Regions from separate parts of the Homo sapiens genome. Here all the other regions are linked to region 1. Evidence: promoter capture Hi-C in 16 types of primary human blood cells and fetal thymus (Javierre and others, 2016). All regions are on one chromosome and are shown on one strand. Each heading gives the region's core, a stretch centred on a gene start or on the middle of the fragment in contact. The rest is flanking DNA. Distances are from core to core; before and after follow the strand shown. Region 1 holds the start of ERLIN2 (ER lipid raft associated 2). Region 2 has its middle 240 kb from the start of LINC01605. Region 3 has its middle 200 kb from the start of LINC01605. Region 4 holds the start of EIF4EBP1 (eukaryotic translation initiation factor 4E binding protein 1).

Region 1 (5,897 bases), core at 1,661-4,160:
GTATTCAATAAAGCTTTATGAAATCTGTATTGTAAATATCCATTGAGGTATAATTTCAGAAGCCTTTATCTCTTCTTCTGATAAGCCTTCATTTGGTTATTATTTAATACCATACAACTTAAAGTTTATCATTCTCTCGCCCTGTGTCACATTAATAATCTGCAATGATAACCCACAAACATGCAAGAATACATTAAGGGAATTTGCTATTTAAAACAGCAACAGCTAACACTTGGTGAACACTTAAAATGTACCAAATGTTGTATATGCTTTTCACAACAGTCCTATAAGTTTCATACCATTATTACTTTAATTTTATAGATGAAGAAACTGAGGCAGGGATAGATCATTTTTCCAATGTTACAGAATAAGAGGCAGGCTCCAGGATTTAAACAAGGCAGCCTGACTGTGAAGTATCTGAGCTAAATCACTACTCTATACTGTGAGGTTTTTTAAAAAATAAAATTTTAGCCGGGCGCAGTGGCTCACGCCTGTAATCCCAGCACTTTGGGAGCCCAAGGCACGTGGATCACTTGAGGTCAGGAGTTCAATACCAGCCTGACCAACGTGGTGAAACCCCATCTCTACTAAAAATACAAAAATTAGCCAGTCGTGGTGGCATGCGTCTGTAGCCCCAGCTACTCGGGAGGCTGAGGCAGGAGAATCGCTTGAAGGGAGGCAAAGGTTGCAGAGCTGAGATCGCGCCACTGCAGTCCAGCCTGGGTGACAGAGCGAGACAGGAAGGAAGGAAGGAAGGAAGGAAGGAAGGAAGGAAGGAAGGAAGGAAGGAAGGAGAAAAAGAAATTGTAAACATTTTTGTTAAACAAATCATCACAAATGTATCTGCTGGGTAACATAAAAATCACAGGTCTCTTAAGAAAGAGATTTTCAGAAGTACTAGATCATCATGTACTAGCACATCACGAAGTCCATCCCCCTGCCTTTAGGCACGTCCACAACTAAATAACTCAGGTCTGGTAAAATGACTCCTAAGAACAAAATCCCAAAACTTCTAGCCACAATTCACTCCAAAGTTTAATGTGAGGAAATTTTTGTGTTTTTATTATTTTTAATTGACACATAATAATATACATATTTGTGGGAAGGGGAGGGGAGACGGGTTGCCAGAGGTTGGTTAAAGGAAATTCTTAAATTACAAGTAATTTAAATACTTGATGCTGCAGGCTAGCCCCCATTTCATGGGTTGATGAACCCTAATATTTCCATTTTTCTTACTCAATTATTAAATAAACTATTAAATAAGCATGCCCAGCTGAGGTTATATCACTGAACAGGGAGAGAAAAAACTCAAGTTCTGATAGGATTGATCGAGAGATTGGCCAGCTGTGTCTGTTTGGGGTGGGGGATGCAGGGACAGAGTAGGGAGATGAAAGGCCTTCATTTATGGAGATGGGCACAGAGCTCCCAGACAGCACCATGTAACCCTCGTATGGGTTTCACCATGTAATGCTGAAACATCCCAACACCCAGAGCAAACGCAGGAAAGGTAAACGGGCCAATCCCAAGCAGGCATGCCTGGAAAAAACCACACTTCCCTTTTCCTGAGTCTTAAATCTGTCTAACACCACCAGCTTGCCATCTTCCCGGTGTAAAAGTTTTTCTTTTACTGAAGGCTATAATTAAGTGGACTCTTTCTCTCCTGCAAACAAAATATTAATAACCTCAGTGGCTGAATTAGAAATGCCCCAATGTGATGCTGGTGAATAGGGCAGGTGGAGGACAACGTGAGGCCCTTAGACTAGGAGACACAAACTCTGGATTCCGGGCCTGGTCCCACGTTGCCTTCAGTCTGTTTTTACTGGGCACCTAAGCCCCGGGGGTGCGGAAGGAAAGTCAGTCTCTGCTCTCCCGGGAACGTACAGTTTATCTAGAAAGACGAAGTGCACTAGCCCCTGTGCACTGTGGCAGGAGTTTAAAAAGCAGTGAACTCAAGATATTAAGGAAACACAAAGGAAACTTTCCTTGGCTTTTACCCTTGAACCTCGCTGAACTTCTTAGATTCCGTTCATTAAAATTAGAATAATAATTCCTTGTTAATATACTTTGTGGCGTTGCAGGATCCCAAGGGCCAAAGCTCCCAGAAAAATATAAAGAACAACTCAAGGTAGGGATTTTTGATTGGTGAGGTAATGATGCTAATCTGTACATTGAAAAGACTGTTTCATTTCAGCTGTGCTATAGGAAAGCAAACAGTTGCAACTCGCCAGTACCTTATCAAGGAGAGAAAAAAAAAAAGGCCGCGCATGGTGGCTCATGCCTGTAATCCCAGCAGTTTGGGAGGCCGAGGCAGGAGGATTGCTTGAAGCCAGAGTTTGAGACCAGAAATACCAAGACCCTGTCTTTACTAAAAATAAAATTGTCAAGTGTCGTGGCGTGCGCCTGTGGTCCCAGCTACTCAGCAGGGTGAGGTGGGAGGATCGCTTAAGCCCAGGAGTTCGAGGCTGTAGTGAGCTATGATCGTGCCACTGCACTCCAGCCTGGGCAAAAGAGCGAGACCTTGTCTCTAAAAAAACCAAAACGAACCAGGTTCGGCCTAATGCAGAAGGAAATCCGGAGCAATCCCCAAAGTCAACGCCTTGGAAAGGTTCGCCCTGGGTCTCAGTACTCCGGGGCATGCGCGTCCTGCCGCTCGCTCTCGGGGAGCTCCCACCAACACCGCCCTCATCCCCAGCCCCAGGACGGATACCCAAGACCGAGGTCCAGGACCGCACCGACCAAGTCGCGGGCGATCCCTGGCGGCCAGCTACGGCCATTGACCGCTGGGAGCGCGAGGGGCGGGGCGCAGAGCGAGCGCGGGGCGGGGGTGTGGTCTTCTCGCGTGAATTGATGGCGTCATCGAAGCGACGGCCCGGAAGGAAGTCGCGTGCTGAGGGGTGTGACGGTTTTCTTGCTCGTGGGCTCGGACGAGTACGGAGCGCCTGCAGGGACAGCCTGGTACGCGGCCCCCGCCCCTTCGTGCGCGCGCTGGGCCTAGCTGCCGCTCAGGGTCGGGGCTGACCCGTCACTTTCGGGAACCTCAGTCCCAGCAGCTTCTCTCCCTCAGCCGGCCCGCTCCTGGAGAGAGACAGAAACCCTTTTCTGTCGCGTCCTCTCCTTGCGAGCCGCAGGGGGACCGAGCGGAGGCTATTGGAGCCGCAGCCCCAGACCAGGGCGCTTGACCCTCTCTCGGAACGGGGCGGGGAAGGGGCGCGAGTGACCTCGGGGAGGGAAGGGCACTGGCAGGAAAGGACGCAACTGCAGATCGGTAGCCGGAGGCCGCCACGGTAAAATAAGCGCCTCGCAGATGTCCGCGCCCCGGTTACGTTAGACCTGGGAGGCAGAATCCACGCCCTGCGCTCACGGGCCCACGCACGCACAGCTGAACTTTGCAGTCAGTCACCATAGTTCCAGATCATTCAGCGTTCAGGATCCCACTCCTCCGCGTCCTGGTGCCTGAACGCGGTTGGACCTAGGAGCCTAGAGGCTCGCAGTTTGGGACATTGCCTTTCTCTCTGACCACGGGCTTGGGGATCTGTCAGGTGCAAAGTGCCAAAGTATATGGGGGGGAGTGTGGCTTCAGGCTTGTTCAGAGCCCTGTCCTGTTTAGGGCCAAAGGAATAACTGGGAAGGTGGATGCGAGGCCAACGAATCCTACCTTGAAACTCTGCTCGCCTGCTGGCTCTGCCACTCCAGCATCTGAAAGGAGTAAATAATGGTTTCCTTTGAAACTGCAGGCAATTAGGAGTGGGAGACTCTGACCAGAATTACATAGCCACAACTGCCTGTCATTTGGCATCCTCTGTAATTTGGGCCAAAGTACTGCAGCTGCCTCTCTTCCCTACTACTGGTAGGAAAGGTTCAGTGACAGCACATTCGTGTTCACAGGAAGACAAGGCTGTGTTCTGAACCCTACCCAGCTGGCACGGGTTCTCCCTTGAGCAACGGCTGTATCCGGAGCCAGTGCTTCCTCAGTGCGGTGGGGGCTCTAATTTTACAGTTAAAGAAAGGGGAACGTTGACTGAGAACGAGGAGGAAGCGAGTTGTAGATCTAGCCTTGTGTTCACACGACACCAGGCTGGATATGAGTCACTCGCAGGGAGCTCAGCTTGGTGAGGTCCTCTCGCTGTTGTGGCCTTTTCTCCTGCACGTTGGACCACACACATTTTCCCGTGTCTTTTCCCTAGGATAAAGGCTCACTGATGGCTCAGTTGGGAGCAGTTGTGGCTGTGGCTTCCAGTTTCTTTTGTGCATCTCTCTTCTCAGCTGTGCACAAGATAGAAGAGGGACATATTGGGGTATATTACAGGTAAGGCAGAGACAGGGAGAAGCCGGCAACTTCCTGTTAAATAGCTCCCTTTCCTGGTCATTGCTTTCCTAGCAGATTCTGCTGAACATCTCTATTTATATTTCCTTGAATAGGGGAGCCTTTTCAGATGGAGCTTTTTATGTCAGTAACCACGGGAAAGAGAATACACACACACACATATATATGTAAATTTAGAACTTCACTTAGTAGTCCAAGATGATGCCATGGGTGGTGATTAATAAATGTGTATATAGATTTAGAGACAAAATCTAAAGGAAACTGGTGCTCCTCATTGATCATCCCTAAAATACTGTTTTCTCCTACATTCCTCTGGCAGTCTTAGCTCTACATCCCTCTGGCAGTCTTAGCTCTACATCCCTCTGGCAGTCTTAGCTCTACACTGCTAGGTTACCTTTACAAAAGCCAGCTGAGTACCAGTTCTTGATGGCAACTTGAGAAGGTAGCCTACTCTGCTAATTTGGGATGCTCTTTTAAAATTAACATTTCAGCCAGCCTGGGTCACATAGTGAGACCCTATCTCTAAAAAAATAAAATAAAAAATAAAATTTTAATTGGCCGGCTGTGGTGTCACACACACGTAGTCCTAGCTACTCAGGAGGCTTAGATGGGAGGATCACCTGAGCCCAGGAGATTGAGACCAGCCTGAGCAACATAGTGAGAGCCCATCTCTACAAAAAGTAAAAAATTAGCCGAGCATGGCAGCACGTGCCTGTAATCCCAGTTATTTGGGGGGCTGAGGTGGGAGGATCACTTGAGCCCAGAAGTTTGAGGCTGCAGTGAGCTATGATCACACCACTGCACTCCAGCCTGGGTGACAGAGCAAGACCCTGTCTCTAAAAATAAAATAATATTAACATTTCAAGAAAAATGAAAGAGCCTGCAGGTTGACTTACGTCAATCAAAGCAAGCCTTAGGATAGTGGTTCCTACAATAAAGGAACCCATTATGTCACTGTTTATTTTATTGGTTTTTTTTTTAATTCTTTGCCTAATATAAAGCAAAGAAGCACTTATAAGTCTTGGGTTGCTTTCTTTTTAGTAACCTCCATGACCAAGTGTTTTGCTTTATGTCTTTATGAACTCTTCTTATATGTGCTGTTGTGATGCTTGTTTCTGGATTGCTAACAGCAAGTTCTAAAACTCTGATTGGAATTCCTCTCTCCTTTAATTCTTTCTCCCCATCATCTGCTTACATGTTCCCCAAAAAGGCTTTTAACTTCATCATTTACATATAACTTGATTAGAAAGGTAACTCTATTGCCAAAACATATATTTCAATTATTTATAAAGTACTTCAAATTATTCTTTTGGTTGGTCATGTCATTGGACTCCAGCATTAGTGCAGGTAGTTGATAACCATATTACTGGACTTAACTGCCCTAATGGATTGCCACAAGCCCAACAGATATGACAAAGTAAAACAGACTTCTTATCTTTTTTTTTTTTGAGACAGTCTCGCTGTGTTGCCCAGGCTGGAGTGCAGTGGTGAGATCTTGGTTCACTGCAACCTCCGCCTCCCAGGTTCAAGCAATTCTCTGCCTCAGCCTCCTAAGTAGCTGGGATTACAGGTG
Region 2 (5,897 bases), core at 1,779-4,278, 370 kb before region 1:
GTGAGAGATTCACGAGAATACTGGGTCAATTTTCCCAGCCCACAGCCCAATTAGGAGTCCAGAAGAGAGAAGGCAAGATGGCATTTGGTGGATTTTCCCACTGCTAAATCATCCCTATTTCAATACATTGGTCCATCATGTTGATGAATAATCCCCTCACACTACTCACAAGGCACATGTCACTGTGGTTAGACACATCTTGCAGAAAAGAGCCTGCAGCTCCAGAAGAAATCTGAAAGAGGAAGTCACACCAAAAGCCATTTTGGGCAACTCCCCACTCCAGGAAATCAGGGCTGAAACTCTCCAAGCAGGCATGTCCCTCTTAGTCCTGCAGGGCAGGAAATGCTTTGGTAGCTTAAGCAAAGTCATGTGCTCACGGGTCATCAGCGCATCAAGAGAACTTGGACATCCTTTAGCCCTAAAACTCTCAATGTGGTGGGGGAAAAAAATGCAGGGGAAGAGGTTTGATTCCCAAATATATAAATTCCAGAAGAAAATAATATAATACAAGTGGCCAAGAAACATATGAAAAAAATGCTCATCATCACTAATCATCAGAGAAATGCAAATCAAAACCAAAATGAGACACCATCTCACATCAGTCATAAGGGCTATTACTAAAAAGTCAGAAAATAACAGATGTTGGTGAGGCTGTGGAGAAAAGAGAATGCTTATACATTGCTGGTGAGAATGTAAATCTGTCCAGCCACTGTGGAAAGAAGTCCAGAGATTTTTCAAAGAATGTAAAACAAAGCTATCATTTGACCCAGCAATTCCATTACTGGGTATATACTCAAAAGAAAATAGGTCATTCAACCAAAAAGACACATGCACTCATGTGTTTATTGCTGAGCTATTCACAATAGCAAAAACATGGAATCAACCCGGGTGCCTATCAATGGTAGATTGGATAAAGAAAATGTGATACATATACACCTGGAATACTATGCAGCCATAAAAAGAATGAAATCATGTCCTTTGTAGCAACATGGATGGAGCTGGAGGCCATAATCTTAAGCAAATTAACACAGGAACAGAAAACCAAATATCATACTTTTTCACTTGTAAGTGGGAGCTGAACACTGAGCATACATGGACATCAAGGTGGGAACAATAGACACTGGGGAATGCCAGAGGGTGGGAGGGTGAGTTTAAAAACTACCTCTCGGGTCCTGTGCTTACTACCTGGGTGACAGAATCTGTACTCTCAACCTCAGCATCACACAATATTCCCATGTAACACATCTGCATATATATCCTCTGTATTTAAAATAAGAATGGAAAAGAATGAGTTCATGTCCTTTGCAGGGACATGGATGAAGCTGGAAACCATCATCCTCAGCAAACTAACCTAGGAACAGGAAACCAAACACTGCATGTTCTCACTCATAAATGGGAGTTGAACAATGAGAACACATGGACACAGGGAGGGGAACAACACACAGTAGGGCCTGTCGAGGGGTGAGGGGAAAGGGGAGGGAAAGCATTAGGACAAATACCTAATGCATGCAGTGCTTAAAGTCCAGATGATGGGTTGATAGGTACAGCAAACCACCATAGCACATACATACCTATGTAACAAACTTGCAAGTTCAGTGCATATATCCTAGAACTTAAAGTAAAAAATCAAATAAAATAAATAAAATAAAGTTGAAATTTAAAAAAGAAAATATAAAGTTTGAAAAAACCCTCAGGTGTTTCTTATGCACCCTTTCAGGGAATACCCAGCCCAGCCCTCTCACTTTGCACCTGAGGAAATGCACACCCACTGGAGCAGGCAGAACTGGGTTTATCATCCACCCACACAACCAAGGCTAAGAGGAGAACAGAGCTTTCTCACTTGATATGGCCAGATTCTCCCCAAGGCCAGAGCTGGACAGGCAGCAGCACATCACTGATGGCAGAAATGCAGCCAGCATCCTCTCTGCTCCCCTTCCTGAGAAAAGTCACCAAGTGCACCTCTCCAGGGAGGCAGGGCCCATGTGAAGAATTGCTCTTTCTTTTCCTCTATTTCCCAGAGCAAATCTGCTCTCTGGAGTGTGCAGCACAAAAAGAAAGTCAAACTCCAAAGTGCATGCTATGGTGGTAGCCTCTCAAAGTTTCCTCCCAGTGGTGTATGGATGATGCCTGGGCATGACAGTGTGGCTTATTAAGAAGTGCTGTCATTCAAAGGCCTTCCACCTGCCAGTGATGAAAGAGAAGTGGCATTGGCTGCACATCTCATTCTATAGATGAGCAAATGGGAACAAACCCAAAAAGTGATTTGTCTTAGGTCACAGAGCACGTGGATAGCCGGAGCAAGAAGAAGATCTAAATATTTTCATGATTAAGCTGGGAAATTCAAAATATGACTAGATATTAGATAATATGAAGGAATTATTGTTAATTTTTTAAGGTCTGATAGCAGTATTGCAATTTTTTTCTTTTTTACTTTTAGCAATGTCTACTAAAGTGATAACAGATGAAATGGTATGATAACTATGGTTTACTCCAAAATAATCCAAGGTGAGAAGAATAGGGGGGCAATGGTTGGATGAAACAAGCTAGGACATGAGTGGATTCTGCTAAAGCTGGTGATAGGTATTTGGGGGTTCATTATGCTATCCCTTTTCTGTATATGCTTTAAATTTTCCATAGTAACAAAAATTAAAATTAAATACCTAAATGCCCTGGCCCCCAAAATCCACCACAGTGTTCATTCTCTCGTGCATTCTAAGCAATGCCAGGCTGGAACTAAAGATCAGCCTTCCTAGCTCCAGGGAGCGTGTTTCCAGTAATATGTAGGAGGATGTGAACTTTTTCCTTTCCCTTTGCTGGGGGAGAAAGTCTCAGCAAGGAGGGACTGGCCTCAGGATACAGCCAGTCCACATCATTGGAGAGAGAGGCTCCTGAGTCTGGAAGCTTCCTGGCACCAACACAGCCAGAAGCGGAGGTTCTGCCCAGGCAGTACTCAGATCCATGCTATTTACTTGATCAGGTCTCTTCATCTCTTGAAGCCCTGGTTTCTTCATTTGTGAACCTAAAGTGATAGCCCCAGTTTGCCTATGTCAAAAGATGCAAGGATCAAATTAAATAATGAAGGTGGATTCCTAGAGCGATAGTAGAGTATCTGTATCTAAATCCCATCTCCACTTCAGATTAGCTCTGTGGTTCAGACAAGCTTCTCCATCTCTCTTGCCTCAGGGTCCTCCACAACAAAAGTAGGGTTGTTGCAAGGATTCATTGAATTAATATATGCAAACAACTAAGAACAATACAAGACATTATGTAAGTGATTATTATTATTGCTCTATAATGGTATACTAACATAACATGTCAATATTATTAAAGGAACCATGGAGTGTTATATTAGAAAGGAACTTGGGAAGTTATTTATTCCACACTCCACTTTTCAGAGAATCAGAAAGGCGATGTGACTTATCTGGAATCTCGTAACAAGGCAGGGACAGAATGGATCCTGGAGCAACACCAAGGCCAGTGTTCATTCTGCAACCCCACTACATCCACTCCACGAAGCAGGTGGCCATTTCTTATTTCTTATTGCTCATAAGGAGGCCCACACAGAGTCACATCCTCAATCCAGATCTTGTGCTGGACAAGCAAGCCCAGGAGTCCCAAAGCCCAGTGCCTCACCGGTCTGTAATGGCAGAGGACATGTGGGTTGGAGGAGAATCCCCAGCTCCTTGTTCCACACCTGATCCCTGGAGAGCAGACCAGGGCAGCCATGAGCTTCAGCTGTGTCCCTTGCCTTCCATGGTCCATTCCTGAAGAGTGGGCAGCACTTCCCATGCCTCCCCTCGGACTTCGCCGCCACCACAAAAACATTTTCAAGGCGATGGTGCAAGCTGCCCTACTTACCATTAAGAGAAAGGACCACATTATTGCTGTTATAAACCATTGATTAAGGTTTATAATAGCAATAATCCCCTCGAAATTCATTGTTACTGCAGTTAATGGCCAGTTTATTAGAGCGTTAACCATCCTTGGCAATGGGCTGAGTCGTTTAATGTGGGTAACGACCAATTTCTCAAGGATTATTGCTTAAATAACAATTCTTTGGGAGACGTATGTGCCACCACAAGGTGCGGCTCTGGCTGGAAGCTTCTCCTCAGAAATAATTGTTAATTATTTCCTCAGGGTTGCACCACCAGCACTGTACCTAACAAATCCCAAACAATGAGCTTCTTATGGCAATGCTTCAGAGGCACCAAAGAATCAAACTGTTGGACCAGGGCCTAGAGCAGGAGCTGTGCCCTTCTGTGAAGGGATCAGAAACAGAGCAGCCACCATGATGGCTTCTGGCCTCCCAAGCAACAGCACCACCGGGAAACAGTATCTGGCTTTTCATGGAGACGACTCCTTCCTCTTCACGTGACTTCATTTCCAGAATTTTCTACCTGTCCAAGCCCTCCACCCATTCCCTTGACAGGTAGGGGAAAGTAGGGCCAGCCAAGAGGCTGGAGAAAGGACCAAAAAATGGGAAGCAGCCGGGCATCGTGGCTCATGCCTGTAACCCCAGCACTTTGAGAGGCCAAGACGGGTGGGTCACTAGAGGCCAGGAGTTCGAGACCACCCTGGCCAACATGGCGAAACCCCATCTCTACTGAAAATACAAAAATTGGCCGGGCCATGGTGGTGCACACCTGTAATTCCAGCTACTCAGGAGGCTGAGGCACAAAAATCACTTGAACCTAAGAGGTGGAGATTGCAGTGAGCCGTCATCGTGCCACTGCACTCCAGCCTGGGTGACAGAGTGAGACACCATCTCAAAAACAAACAAACAAACAATGAAAAGTGGGAAGCATGACCAACCGAGGCCTCATAATGGTTTAAGACACTCTGGAGCAGAGTCTACACCAGGACCTAGGAGACTTGGTCAGATGGGGCAGCAGGCACTGAATGGTACCCACTAATTTGCACAGTGCTGAAGTACTGGTAGTCTGTCTGCAGCCACTGGCTGCTTTGGGGTTTGTTTCAGGCAGAAAGAAAACAACCGGGGCCAGATTATATGCTTTAATCATTAAATACAATGATAAAGCCAGGGGTCTTTTTAATTATCCAGGTCTCTTTATTGTACAGGTGAAAACTAAGGGCCCAGAGAGATTAGGAGGCTTGGCTATGTCACACAGCCACTTAGAGAAGAGCTGGAAGTACATCTTGGTCTCCATTTTTCCTTTATCAACCTCAAGACAACCTTTTTGGACAGATCCAAATGAGGAAATTTTTCTCAAGAAATAGGATCACAGCCCAATAGGGAGAGAATGCAGAGACAAAGCACTCCCGAGCTCATGAGCACTTAAACAAGAGTCTCAGAAGAAGCCAATGATCTGATCCTCCCACTCCTCCTCCTCCCCAACTGTCTTTTTATGTATAACTCAATCCAGGTATTTCATCACATTAACTATTTTCTATCACTTTATATTAGCACTGGTATTTCAATAACTTTTATTTTTTTGACATGATCTGAGAGCTACTGATATGATTACACTCTAATTGCATTATATTAACTAAAATAAATACTAATAGGGTGTGAACCTAACATAATAAGATAGCAAATTGCTATCACAGTGCCAGGGCAGGCAAGAGAGAAAACTGCTGATTCACTCAACAAACACATATTAAGGTCCTGTTATGTGTGGAGCACTAAGGCAACTTCCTTTTTTCTCATCATCTCCAAAAACTAACTTGGTACAATAACAGAAAGTGAGGTGTCAAAGCCTCCTTGAATCTATGAATCCTTCAACCTCCATGTTTTGACTGAACAGCAAGAATCATTACCCATATATAACAGCAAGGGGGAGAATAAACGTCTCTCCCAGGAGCTCAGTGAAGTAAATGTCTAGTAACTCATCATTGCCCTCACCCTTCAGACACATAGATCCACCTTCATCCTGGAG
Region 3 (5,897 bases), core at 1,980-4,479, 340 kb before region 1:
GATCCAGACACAATTTTCCATGCACCACTGTCCTTGAGGCCCATGACATCCCTTTATATCCTTCAAATAAATTCCCCTTTTTTCTTAAAATAGATCAGATTGGTTTTTTTGCTCCCTACAACCAAAAGAGTCTTAAAACACCTCTACTTTCTACAACTCCCTAATACAGTGCTTCTATTCAAGTCAAGCTAATTTCTTTTGTTGTCCTGCAACCATGAGCCTTGCTCATTTCTACATTGTTACATTTGCTCCAGTTGATTATTTCACCGGAGATGCCCTCTCGATTCCCGTAACCTATCCTCCTCCCAACACAAGTGCCTCCTTCATCATGAAAACTGCTCCAGCCCTTCTGATAATCTCTCCCTTAGGTTTCTCCTTATATTCTCTGCCAAAAAATTTAGCAATCAATTGTATTTTGTCATGTACGCTGTACTGTAATGCTAATCTTGTCTCCGCAAAGAGATTGTGAGCTCCTTGCGGGCAACAACATGACTTCTAAGACTTTCTCATATCTCTTAGTACCAGCACTTGGTTTAACTGAAGCACCTTTCCCCAGATGAATCCATGACCATCCAGCAAAGCTGAATAGATGGAATGAAAGAAGAGGAGAACCTAAGTTTAGACAGAGCCAGAAGTGTTTCTTGGTTGCTGCTTCTCCCCAGCATGGTAGAGGTTCTTCACCATCTTGGACAGGGAATGGGACCCCATTTTCAGCAGGCTGAGAGAGGAAAAATACTGCCCTGGGATGTGGAAAAGGTGATGCCATTTGCAGGACAGCCAAATTTATTGCTGCCAGAAAAAGTAGGGTCAACTAGCAGAGATACGGGATGATGTGTATCAACCAAACTTTGGATGAACTAAGCATCCTTTCAACTTAATTTTGGAAATCTAAATATATGGAATGCATTAGCTGATTTTATTTTTGGCAGCAGACTTAACCATTCTAATCATGTTTTGCTCTAGAGAATTTTAAAATTAGTTTGCATTTCCTAAGCACACATCAGCTGGGTGAGGGCTGAGGGAGGGAAAAGAGGGAGAGGGAGATGCTAGGAGAAAGCTTGGTTAGGATTAAAACTTTCCTGGCAGATGCCTCATTAAGTGGATAATCCACATGCAGATATATGAAAGCTGACTAACATTGAGTCCTGGGGCCTAGGAGAATGTGGGAGCACAAACAGGCACCTGTCCACCAAGCCAAGATAATTATAAATATGATGCAGGAGGTAAAAAAAAAAAAAAAAGAAAGAAAAAAAAGAAAGAAAGAAAGAAGAAAAAAGAAGAAAGAAAGAAAGAAAGAAAGAAAGAAAGAAAGAAAGAAAGAAAGAAAGAAAGAAAGAAAGAAAGAAAAAGAGAAGAGCTATTTATTTACTGTTTGCATATTTTCTGGGAGAAGAACATAGCTGCAAAAACAAAATTTCTGAGTGATAGTAAATTTACTCTACTATTTGTAGAGTTGGTCAATATGTTATTAACCAACATGGTGGCAATATTAAATGACAGTGAAATCCTGGCATCCTCTCAGGGTTCAGTGTGCTTTGCAAGCATCCTTTCTTTCTTTATCCTCAGCTGGATGTGGGAGGTGATATGGTCTCCACTTCTTAGGAAAGGTGTACAAAGGCTTTTCCAAAATTCATCCTCACCCTCAAAGATATAATCATCATAGTGATTACAATTTGTGGGATCCCCTACTATGTGCTAGAAAATTACACATTATATATGACATCTTCACCACAACCCTGCAAGTTTGGTTGAATAGATATTCCCACTTCACAGATGAGAAACAGAGTCACAACATGGTTAAATAAATTTGATGCACTCACACAGCCAGAAAGTGGCTCAGCTGAAATTGCAACCCAAGGTTCTGTTCCCAGAACCTGCGTTTATTTGACAATGCCACCTCTCAAGAAATACAAGACCATGCTTCAGACTGAAGAGTGAATCACTAACAGCTCACTGTCCAATCCCCTTCTAGGTGAGGTGGGGGTTGAAGAATGCTGGGGATGGCACACCACCCAGGGCTCCTGGGACTTTTGTACTAGTCTTAGCCAAACTGCCCTGGGTTGTCAAAAAATACTGCCCTCGATGGGCCACTGTCCCTTGATGGGAGCACAGCTCTCTGGGATCCAACAAAGGGCTGATGGAGTCCAGGCATGCACAGAGCTGTTCTGGCCTTGAGCCTGAGAGCCACCACTGCCCTTGCTCAGTAGCCAGTTTGGAGAGAAAAAAGGAAATATGCAAGTTAAGACACTCTGGCCTTTGTCTCCATTAGATTCTGCCTTAACAGACAGGCTTTGGGAATCTGTAAGCCAATGGTGGGCAGAAGTTGCTGGAGGACTGAGAAAAGATAGTCAAAGGGGCTCATAAAGGCAGAAGATCCTTTAAAGAAATTATACATGATAAAACCAACATTAAATTAAGGACTATTTAAAAGAAAAAGGCAGTAGCTGTATCAGTCAGGTTCTCCAGAAAAACAGAACCAACAGAAGGTAAGTGTGTGTGTGTGTGTGTGTGTGTGTGTGTAATATATACATATACATATGAAATAAAGATGTTTATTTTAAGGAACTGGCTCACACAAGTCCAAAATCCAAAGACAGCCCAGGAGGCTGCAGCAGGAGCTGATGCTGTAGTCTTTGAAAAAAAATTTTAGATTCAGGGAGTACATGTGCAGGTTTGTTACAAGAGCATACTGCCTGATGCTGAAGTTTGGGCTTCTATTGGTCCCATCACTCAGATAGTGAACAGAGTACCCAATAGGGAGTTTTTCAACCCTTGTCCCCCTCCCTTCTTCCCCCTTTTGGAGTCCTATCTTTATGTCCATGTGTACTCAATGTTTAGCTCTCACTTATAGGTGAGAATATGTGATATTTTGTTTTCTGTTTCTGCATTAATTCACTTAGGAAAACGGCCTTCATCTGCATCCACGTCGATGCAAAAGACATGGTTTCATTCTTTTTTATGGCTGTGTAGTATTTTATGGTGTACATGTACCACATTTTCTTTATCCAATCCACCATTGGTAGGCACCTGGGTTCATTCTATGTCTTTGCTATTGTGACTAGTGCTGATGCTACAGCCTTCAGGGAGAATTTCTTATTCAGGAAACCTCAGTGTCTTCCCTTAAGGCCTTCCAGCTGATTGGATGAGGCCCACCCGCATTACCCAGGGACCTCTCCTTTACATAAGATCAACTGATGGAAGATGTCAACCACATCTACAAAATACCTGCACAGCAATATCTAGATTAATGTTTAACTAAATCATTGGGACTATAACCTGGCCAAGTTGAAATAAAACTGAATATCATATTAGGATTACCCTAACACAATTATTTTCACTCTTTTGTGTTCTCTACTAATAATTACGTATTTTACATAGTTATAAAAACTATATTACAAGAATTTACTACTTTTATTATACATATAATACATGTTCATTATAGAAAATTTGTATACATAAAAATTTGCCATTCTAATTTCTTAGGTAAGTTGTAAACCCTTTTTCATGTTTATAAGGCTATCTCCTCCATGGGATTACAGGAACCATAAGAACAGAGGCCAAGGTCCCATCTGTGTTTTTATGCCTGTCATTAATTATGGTGCCTGGCATATGTTAGGTGCTCAATATATATTGTTTAAAAGAATGGGTTTTCTTTTTTTAAATATATTTTCCACCTTTTATTTCCATCGGTATCATCCATTTAAAAAGAATAACAGGAAGATTCCCATCAGTCTAAACTGGACCACCCATGCTTTATGAAAAAGTTGGAGCATTTCAGCCGGCCCCACATGACCCACCCTGCCTTCAGTTAGAGGAGCTTCTAGTGCCTTCTGGAAGGGAGGAAAAGTCTCGGATCCACCTGGCACTCAATCCACTCAGCACTTGGCTGCTGCTGCCGTCCTGGGGCCGGAGGGAACTCCCACTGAATGCACTTCTACAGAGGAGTGTGTGGTGCAGTGAGGATGGTTACTGCTGGAGCCAACACACAGTGAACTACATACTTTTAGAAAGAGCCTCTGTCACATAGATAGAACCAAAAGAAAACCCAGAAAAAACCTTGAGAAAATATATTTAAATCTCTGATAGGTCTCTTAGCTAGCAGTGAGTTCAGTATGACAGCATAGAGTCTAAAAATATTAATTAAAAATAAGTTGCTTTGGTTAGCATTTAATCCTTCCCCAAGAATGGGTTTTCTTATGTAACACCAACACTAATTATTTGTGATAAATACATAAGAGTCTAAGTAATATACTAAAATTATCCTAGTTCATCACCTATTATTAAACATTCAGGTTCTTTTCAGGTGTGGTTTTGGGGGTTTTTTTCTGTGAAAAGTTTTACTGCTAGAGACTTCTTTTTCAAATAGAATTTTCTCTTATTTGAATAATTCAAAAAAACTTATTTACACGTTTTCCCTTGGGGCATGTTGGCCTTAAATGATCACACTGATTAGTCAAACTACTAATTAATTTAGAAGAGAGTATAAGTCAAAATGATTGTTTGGCAGATCCATTAAGACTTGAACAATAGCCTCATAATAATAGCTAGTAATATGTAGCTCTTTACAAAACTGCCCCAAGCCAAAACTGAGCTTTGTTAAGCATGGTCCCATAACTTCCCTCTATAATAATGGGGCTGGAAGTCTGAAAACTACATTTCCCAGATCTCTTTGGCAGTTGGCTTCCAGTTAAGTTTTGTCTAACTGGCAGGAAAATCAAGACAAGAGAGGAAGGGAGATGTCTTTGTTTCTCTCTCTCTCTCTCTCTCTCTTTCTCTCTCTGTCTCTCTCTCTTCTCCTGCTTCTCTCCTTTCTTCTTCTGATAGTGTTTCTTCCACCATCTCAGCTTTTTACTTCTTTTGAGACAGGGTCTTGGTCTGTCACTCAGGCTGGAGTGCAGTGGTGTGATCATGGCTCACTGAAGCCTCAACCTCCCCAGGCTCTAGTGATCTTCCCATCTCAGCCTCCCAAGTAGCTGGCACTACAGGCACACATCACCACCATCACGCTTTTGAGGCTGTAATCCACTTTCTGTGCTCTTAGGTTCTGGAAACCCCATCACCATTCTTTTGTTCCTCCAGCCCTAGATAATATCTGATTTACCTTAATTTCCCCTTTTTTGCTCTTTGACTGTCTAAGATCGTTGTAGCCTATTGCCTGTATTAAATATCCTCTGTATGAAATACATAGGTTGGTTTCTTTTTCTGACTAGACTGTGATTGATACAATAAAAACAAAATTTTTTAATGAGGAATTGCTCATCTTACTTGGTTTTTGCCCACTTTGGTCTCCAAAATCTAGACTTTTGAAGTCAATCAGGGTACACTCATCCAAAATATCCCTGTATCACTGTATTGATTGTGTTTTTGTATTTTTTACATTTTGTGATGTTTTGACATCTTAAAAAGCTTTCTGACCAAGGGGAGACTGTTCCTTCCTGGCCAGTCCCTTCTTAGTCTCAGTAAAAGACTCAGCAAGGAGTATGTTTCTTATGTACAAACAAACCAATCCCACATCTCTAGCCTCAACCACCTCCTTCTATAACTCTCACATATCAAGCCAATATTTCCTCTGTCCTAAATCATCCCAGTGCCAGGTACCAGGCAACTAGAGACCACTGCTATAGCTCAAAGCCCACCAGAATTATTCAAACTAGTCAGCCCTAATCTGTCCACTCTGCCCTGCCTTGCGTTTCCCGCAGAAACCCCAGCTCTATCTCAGGCTCTCCCCGCACTCTTGTCTTCTGCCACCTGACCCAAACCTGGTGCTTCTCCTGTGGCCCAGTATGGCATGTGGCGAATTCCTCTCTGGGATCTGTGAGTATAATCAACTTTTTCTTTTCAAGCTTTATTCTCATTCCCTCTTGCGGTCATGCCAACTTTACCACACCATAGCCCAC
Region 4 (5,897 bases), core at 1,418-3,917, 290 kb after region 1:
CCAAAGTGTTGGGATTACAGGCGTGAGCCACCACACCCGGCCTGAAACTCTCTCTTTTTTGAAACAAGGTCTTACTATGTTGCCCAGGCTGGTCTCTGAACTCCCGGCCTCAAGCAATCCTCTGGCCTTGTAATCCCAGCTAGGGCTGGGATTACAAGTGCACATCGCTGCAACCAGCAAGGCCTGGTCTATTTTTATCTTATATTATTTATTTATTTTTTGAGCCCTGGCTGGAGTGCAGTGGTGCAATCTTGGCTCATGGCAACCTCCACCTCTGGGGCTCAGGTCATCTTCCTACCTCATCCTTGAAAGTAGCTGGGACCACAGGTGTGAGCCACAACACTGGGCTAATTTTTAAATTTTTTTGTAGAGACAGAGTTTCACCATGTTGCCCAGGCTTGTCTCAAACTCCTGAGCCCAAGCAGTCTGCTCACCTCGGTCTCCAAATGTGCTGGTATTACAGGTGTGATCCACAGCACCTGGATGAAATTAATTTTTTTTTTTTTTTTTTTTTGAGACGGAGTCTCACTCTGTCACCCAGGCTGGAGTGCAGTGGCAGATCTCTACTCACTACAACCTCTGCCTCCCAGGTTCAAGCAATTCTCCACCTCAGCCTCCCGAGTAGCTGGGATTACAGGCACCCGCCACTGTGCCCGGTCTGTTGTTTTTGTTTGTTTGTTTGTTTGTTTTGTTTTTTTGTATTTTTAGTAGAGACAGGGTTTCACCATCTTGGCCAGGCTGGTCTTGAACTCCTGACCTCATGATCCACCCGCCTAGGCCTCCCAAAGTGGTGGGATTACAGGCGTGAGCCACTGCACCCAGCCGAAATTTATTTTTTTTTCTTTTGAGACAGAGTCTTGCTCTGACGCCAGGCTGGAGTGCAGTGGCATGATTTCAGCTCACTGCAACCTCTGCCTCCCAGGTTCAAGCAATTCTCCTGCCTCAGCCTCCCGAGTAGCTGGGACTACAGGCATGCGCCACCATGCCCAGCTAATTTTTTTTATATTTTTAGTAGAGACAGGGTTTCACCATGTTGTCCAGGATGGTCTCGATCTCTTGACCTCATGATCCGCCTGCCTCGGCCTCCCAACGTGTTGGGATTACAGGCGTGAGCCACTGCGCCTGGCCCAAAATTAATTTTTATAATGTATTTTTCTTAACCCAGTATACTCAAAATATTATCAGTTCAACATACAATCAATATAGAAACAAATTATTCAGGTATTTTACATGATTTTCTTCACACTAAGTCTTTGAAATATGGTGTGTATGTTAAACTTGTGACAGTTTGGACTGGTCACATTTGGAGTGCTCAATGTGCACCTGTAGCTGGTGGCTACTGTCTTAGCCACTGTAGGCCTAAAGTTTCCCTCAAAAGTGAGACCAAACTCAACAGGTCTCCCTATCTCAGGCCTTGCCCTCCTTGGCCCATTCTGAAACTCCACTGGCTACTAGTTATCCTTCCAAAAAACAACTCAAATCATGTCATCCCCCTGCTTAAAAGATCTCTGATATCTCCTGCCCTTCTAAGACAAAGTCCAAGCACTTTGGCATAATTTGAAAAACTCAACGACCTGACCCCAATTTCCTTTTTAAAAAATTATTATATATTTTTTTAGAGATAGGGTCTCTGTCACAAAGGGTGGAGTGCAGTGGTGTGATCACAGCTCACTGGAGCCTCAAACCCCTGGGCTCAAGCATCCTCCAGCCTCAGCTTCCTGAGTAGCTGGGATTACAGGTGCACCACCCAATTTCCCTTTTAAACTGCCCTCCCCTCTTCACCCTCTTCCCCACAATATGTGCCCATAATGCTAAGAACTTCTCAAACCCAACAAGCTTTTCCATCCTCGGTCCTTCTTGCATTTTTCTCTCTCCCCTTGAACATCCATCCATCCATCCATCCATCCATCCATCCATCCATCCATCCAAGGAGTACCTACTAAACCTCAGGTGGACGTTGGACTCAATTCAGGGGCTATCGGGAAACCTCTTCGACACTCTTACTCCTCTCCAACGCCCTTCCCCACCACCCACCTCTGCGCCCCCAGCTCTAAATTTAGCTCCCAGGACGCCGCTGGTTGGTTCACTCCTCCTCCCACACCCTCTCTAAAGGCCGGGAACGGAATTGTTAGCCCCTCCACCCCCACCCCCATCAAGGTCAAGAAATTGAAGCGGGGCGGGGGGCGGTGAGCATAACTACTCAATCCCCATTTTCTCATCTGAGGAACTAAGGCACGAAACAGGGAGTGCCGAAGGGTACACCAGGCCTGATGTCCTAATGCAGAAACCGGGCCTTCCTGCAGTGGGCCGGGTCAGCTCGGATCTCCGCGCGGTCCTGAGTCGCCGCCCCCAACCCAGCCAAGGATTAATTTAGGCGAGCTATCCCGCCCGCCATCCCCATATCCGTCCCTGCCAGCGTGGCGGGGAGGGACCCCGGACGGAGGGGCAGTCGCTGCGGGGCGGCGCCAGCGCCCGTGCGGAAGAGCCCGTGAGCAGACGGGAGTGGGTCGGGGGGCGGCGGGGGATCCCACGTGGAAGCAGCGTCCTGGAGCTGGGTGGGGCTGCGGCGCGGACTACAAATCCCAGGGGCGTGGGGCGGGAGAGGCGGAAGGGGCGTCCTGGGGCGGGGCGGCACGGGGCGAGGCGGAGCGAGGCTGGAGGCGCGGGAGGGCAGCGAGAGGTTCGCGGGTGCAGCGCACAGGAGACCATGTCCGGGGGCAGCAGCTGCAGCCAGACCCCAAGCCGGGCCATCCCCGCCACTCGCCGGGTGGTGCTCGGCGACGGCGTGCAGCTCCCGCCCGGGGACTACAGCACGACCCCCGGCGGCACGCTCTTCAGCACCACCCCGGGAGGTAGGCGCGGGCTTGGCGACGCCGCTTGCCGGCTCCTGGGCGGGCGGGAGGATCGGGAATCGCGGATTGGACCGGGTGTCCAGGCTCAAGGGCGCCGTGATTGGAAAGAACGGAAAAGGGGCATCGGAGAGACAGCGAGGGTCATGGAAGTGGCCGCCCGCTTCCCCTCTGAGTGCGTCTTCCAGACCCGAGTTACAAACTGCCCCGTTTGTTTCCTCTTTCTGTTAGGTGTCAGACAGCTGACACCTAACAAACACGCACGCCTCCAGGACAGCCACATGCCGAGCTGTGCTGCCCCTTGTGGGTGTTGGGGGCGCTCCCGAAGCGGGAGAGGGCGGAGTTAGGGTGGCCCACGATCCAGGAGAGGCCTGGCCTGGTGTTTTTATGGGATGGGTATTATCTGTTGGGATAAACGATTCCTGCAGGGCCCTTTTTCCTTCCCGAAGCACGCCGAGTTTTGTGTTGGACTCGCGCGCTCTGACTGAGGTTCGGATCTGGGGGTGCTTGCCTGCTCCAGCAGCGCCTCCCGGGCACCTGTGGCACGTTCCCCATTTACGCGAGTGGGATCTCCGCGGGGGGGACCCTGGCGCCACGGCCAGGGCTGTGCAGAAAAACACGTTCTTCTGTCCGGGGAGAGGAGGAGGCACCGTGTGACCTCCCTGGGAGAGGATGAGGAAGAGGAAGCTGAGCTGGCACGGGTGGGGGGGCCAGCCTCGGGCTGCCCTCAGGAACCTGGCATTCCCTCCCAGCCCCGGAGCCCCAGCGCACAGACGCTGATGAAACCTACGCGCCTGTTTGCATGATGAAATAAATCCTCGTGGCTCTCTCCTCCCCTCTCATTGTCGCACTGCCCCCACCCCTTTTTGCTCCTCTCCCTTCATTCTCCTCCACGCTGCTTTCCATACTACTAGAAAACGCGACAGATCCTGGCGCTTGGCTAGGTGGCGGGCGGGGGCCACATGCTTATTTTCTCAGGCAGCTGTCCCACCAGCAGCGAGCGCGGCCAGATCCGAGGTCCTCTGCTGTTTGATCCAAAACATACACTGTTAGAACGGTTAGGGATCTTGTCCAGCCCTGCCGTCTTATTCTACAGAGCCCGGCATTGAGGCCCCAGAGCTTGAACACGTGTCTGTTGCCCATTGTCACACCGTTTTCCCAGATTGGACAAGAAATAGCAACCAGGCAGAGAAGGGAGAAATGCTTCCTTTTCTATTAGAAATGAGCCAAGGAAAAGCTCGCAGGGGCTCTTGTTGCCATTCCCGACTCATCCTCTTTCCCTTGCTGGGTCTTTTGTAGTCCATGCTGTTCTCCTTTGTCTCTGTCACAATGGTCTACCAGGACAATTCCTGACAATTTTGGAGTTCTTTCAAATGAGGGTGTAAGTGTCTGCTGGATTTGTTCAGGGTGGGCCCTGAGGCCGGCCTGAAGGCGCAGGTAGCCCTTTTTTGCACTCTTTATTGCTGGATTGTTGGGTCAAATTGGAAGCCAGGATACTGTTTATAGGCACTTCTGGCCCGGGTACCAAGGTTCACACCTGTAATGCCAGCATTTTGGGGAGCCAAGGCAGGAGAATTGCTTGAGGCCAGGAGTTCAAGACCAGCCTGGGCAACATAGTGAGACTCCATCTCTACAAAGAAACAAACAAAACAACAACAAAATGTTGTCCTAGCTACTACAGAGGCTGAGGCCAGAGGATCGCTTGAGCCCAGGAGTTGGAGGCTGTAGTGAGCTATGATTGACCACTGCACTCCAGCCTGGGTGACAGAGCGAGACCCTATCTCTAAAATAAATAATAAATATAAAATATAGGAACTTCAAATCCACTTTTCACTTTGGGTTGGGAAGTGGGGAGTGGGCAGGGGGCTGACAGACCACAGCAAATCCCCTTCCCTTTGAAGGTCTTTAGCAGTAGGGGGAGTGGGGAAGGGACTTCTGCATCAGGGCATAGCATATGTTTCTGAGATCACTGGAAGAAGCTAGCAGTGCCAGGAGCCTAAAGCCAGCTCACTGTTTGGTCGTCCAGTGGAGCAGGTACAGCTCACAGTCCCTAAGCCAGGGAAACCTGGCTGACTTCCACTAAAGTCAAGCAAGCCTGGTCGGCCTCGATTAGCCAAGGTGTGGACTCTTCCTCCAAAGCCCACCTCAGCCCACCTCTGCCAGGGCAGAGAAGCCAAAATGGTCACATTGCAGCCAAAATGGTCACACCCTTTTGCTCCAGAGCAGAATACTGCCTCTCAGTCTTCCAGGTGCTTGAGGATAACTGGGGGCTTCATTTAAGTGCATATTCTGATTCTGTAGGTGGGGGTGGGAACTAGATTCAGCATTTCTTTCTTTTCTTTCTTTCTTTTTTTTTTTTTTTTTTTTGAGACAGGGTCTCACTCTATCACCCAGGCTGGAGTGCAGTGGCGCAATCTCAGCTCACAGCAACCTCCACCTCCTGGGTTCAAGCAATCCTCCCACCCCAGCCTCCCCAATAACTGGGACAACAGGCATGCACCACCCATGCCCAGCTGATTTTTGTATTTTTTGGTAGAGACGGGGGTTTCACCATGTTGACCAGGCTGGTCTCAAACTCCTGGCCTCAAGTGATCTGCCTGCCTCGGCCTTCCAGAATGCTGGGATTACAGGCGTGAGTCACCATGCCCGGCCTAGATTCAGCATTTCTAACTAGCTCTGACTGATTGGTGCACATACCACACTCTGAGTACTCAGGAATTAGTGAAACATAACTTCCCTCACCTTTCAGATCTCTGGAGTCTAGCAAAAAAAAAAAAAAGATGGCTCCATCCAGGTAAACTTTGATCTCTAAATCGTGGTGTGGAGAGCCAGGCTTTTGATAGAGTGTCTGCATGGCTGTCTGCACCTGCTTACTTATAGGGACTGTCAGCTTCTCAGGAAAAACCATTGGAGTAAGTACCCCCCAGTCACTCCTGCTGGGAATGGCCCTCAAGTGATTGTCCCTGGAGGGAAAGAAGCAGCAGTTGGGTTGCACTATCTCCATTCCTATGACTCCAGTTTGCTTTCCTTTTTTTTTTTTTTTTTTTT

The links. Contacts are between HindIII fragments. The CHiCAGO score rates a contact against its expected background, and 5 or more counts as called.
Region 2: a fragment that was not itself captured here is called in contact with the fragment with the promoter of ERLIN2 in region 1 in 3 of 17 cell types (M0 macrophages, M1 macrophages and monocytes); the score reaches 7.8 in M0 macrophages.
Region 3: a fragment that was not itself captured here is called in contact with the fragment with the promoter of ERLIN2 in region 1 in 1 of 17 cell types (monocytes); the score reaches 7.7 in monocytes.
Region 4: the fragment with the promoter of EIF4EBP1 here is called in contact with the fragment with the promoter of ERLIN2 in region 1 in 2 of 17 cell types (monocytes and activated CD4 T cells); the score reaches 6.5 in monocytes.

Annotation. Positions count from the first base shown.
Region 1 is chr8:37,733,724-37,739,620 of GRCh38, forward strand. It overlaps ERLIN2 (ER lipid raft associated 2), which reads left to right and starts at 2,911. Exons shown (of 12, transcript NM_007175.8): 1 at 2,911-2,955; 2 at 4,185-4,306. The coding sequence starts at 4,200. LOC102723701 (a long non-coding RNA gene) reads right to left here and starts at 3,703. Exons shown (of 2, transcript NR_125821.1): 1 at 3,656-3,703; 2 at 1,038-3,075. RefSeq lists enhancers at 2,784-2,993, 3,473-4,265. The HindIII fragment of the contact is 8,102 bases long and covers 12-5,897 here.
Region 2 is chr8:37,361,284-37,367,180 of GRCh38, forward strand. No RefSeq gene overlaps it. Among named protein-coding and RNA genes, the nearest start is that of LINC01605, 240 kb to the right of the region's middle. The HindIII fragment of the contact is 259 bases long and covers 2,900-3,158 here.
Region 3 is chr8:37,394,834-37,400,730 of GRCh38, forward strand. No RefSeq gene overlaps it. Among named protein-coding and RNA genes, the nearest start is that of LINC01605, 200 kb to the right of the region's middle. The HindIII fragment of the contact is 4,349 bases long and covers 1,056-5,404 here.
Region 4 is chr8:38,027,867-38,033,763 of GRCh38, forward strand. EIF4EBP1 (eukaryotic translation initiation factor 4E binding protein 1) reads left to right here and starts at 2,668. Exons shown (of 3, transcript NM_004095.4): 1 at 2,668-2,852. The coding sequence starts at 2,708. RefSeq lists a silencer at 2,449-2,888 and enhancers at 2,465-2,759, 3,389-3,488. The HindIII fragment of the contact is 5,036 bases long and covers 1,835-5,897 here.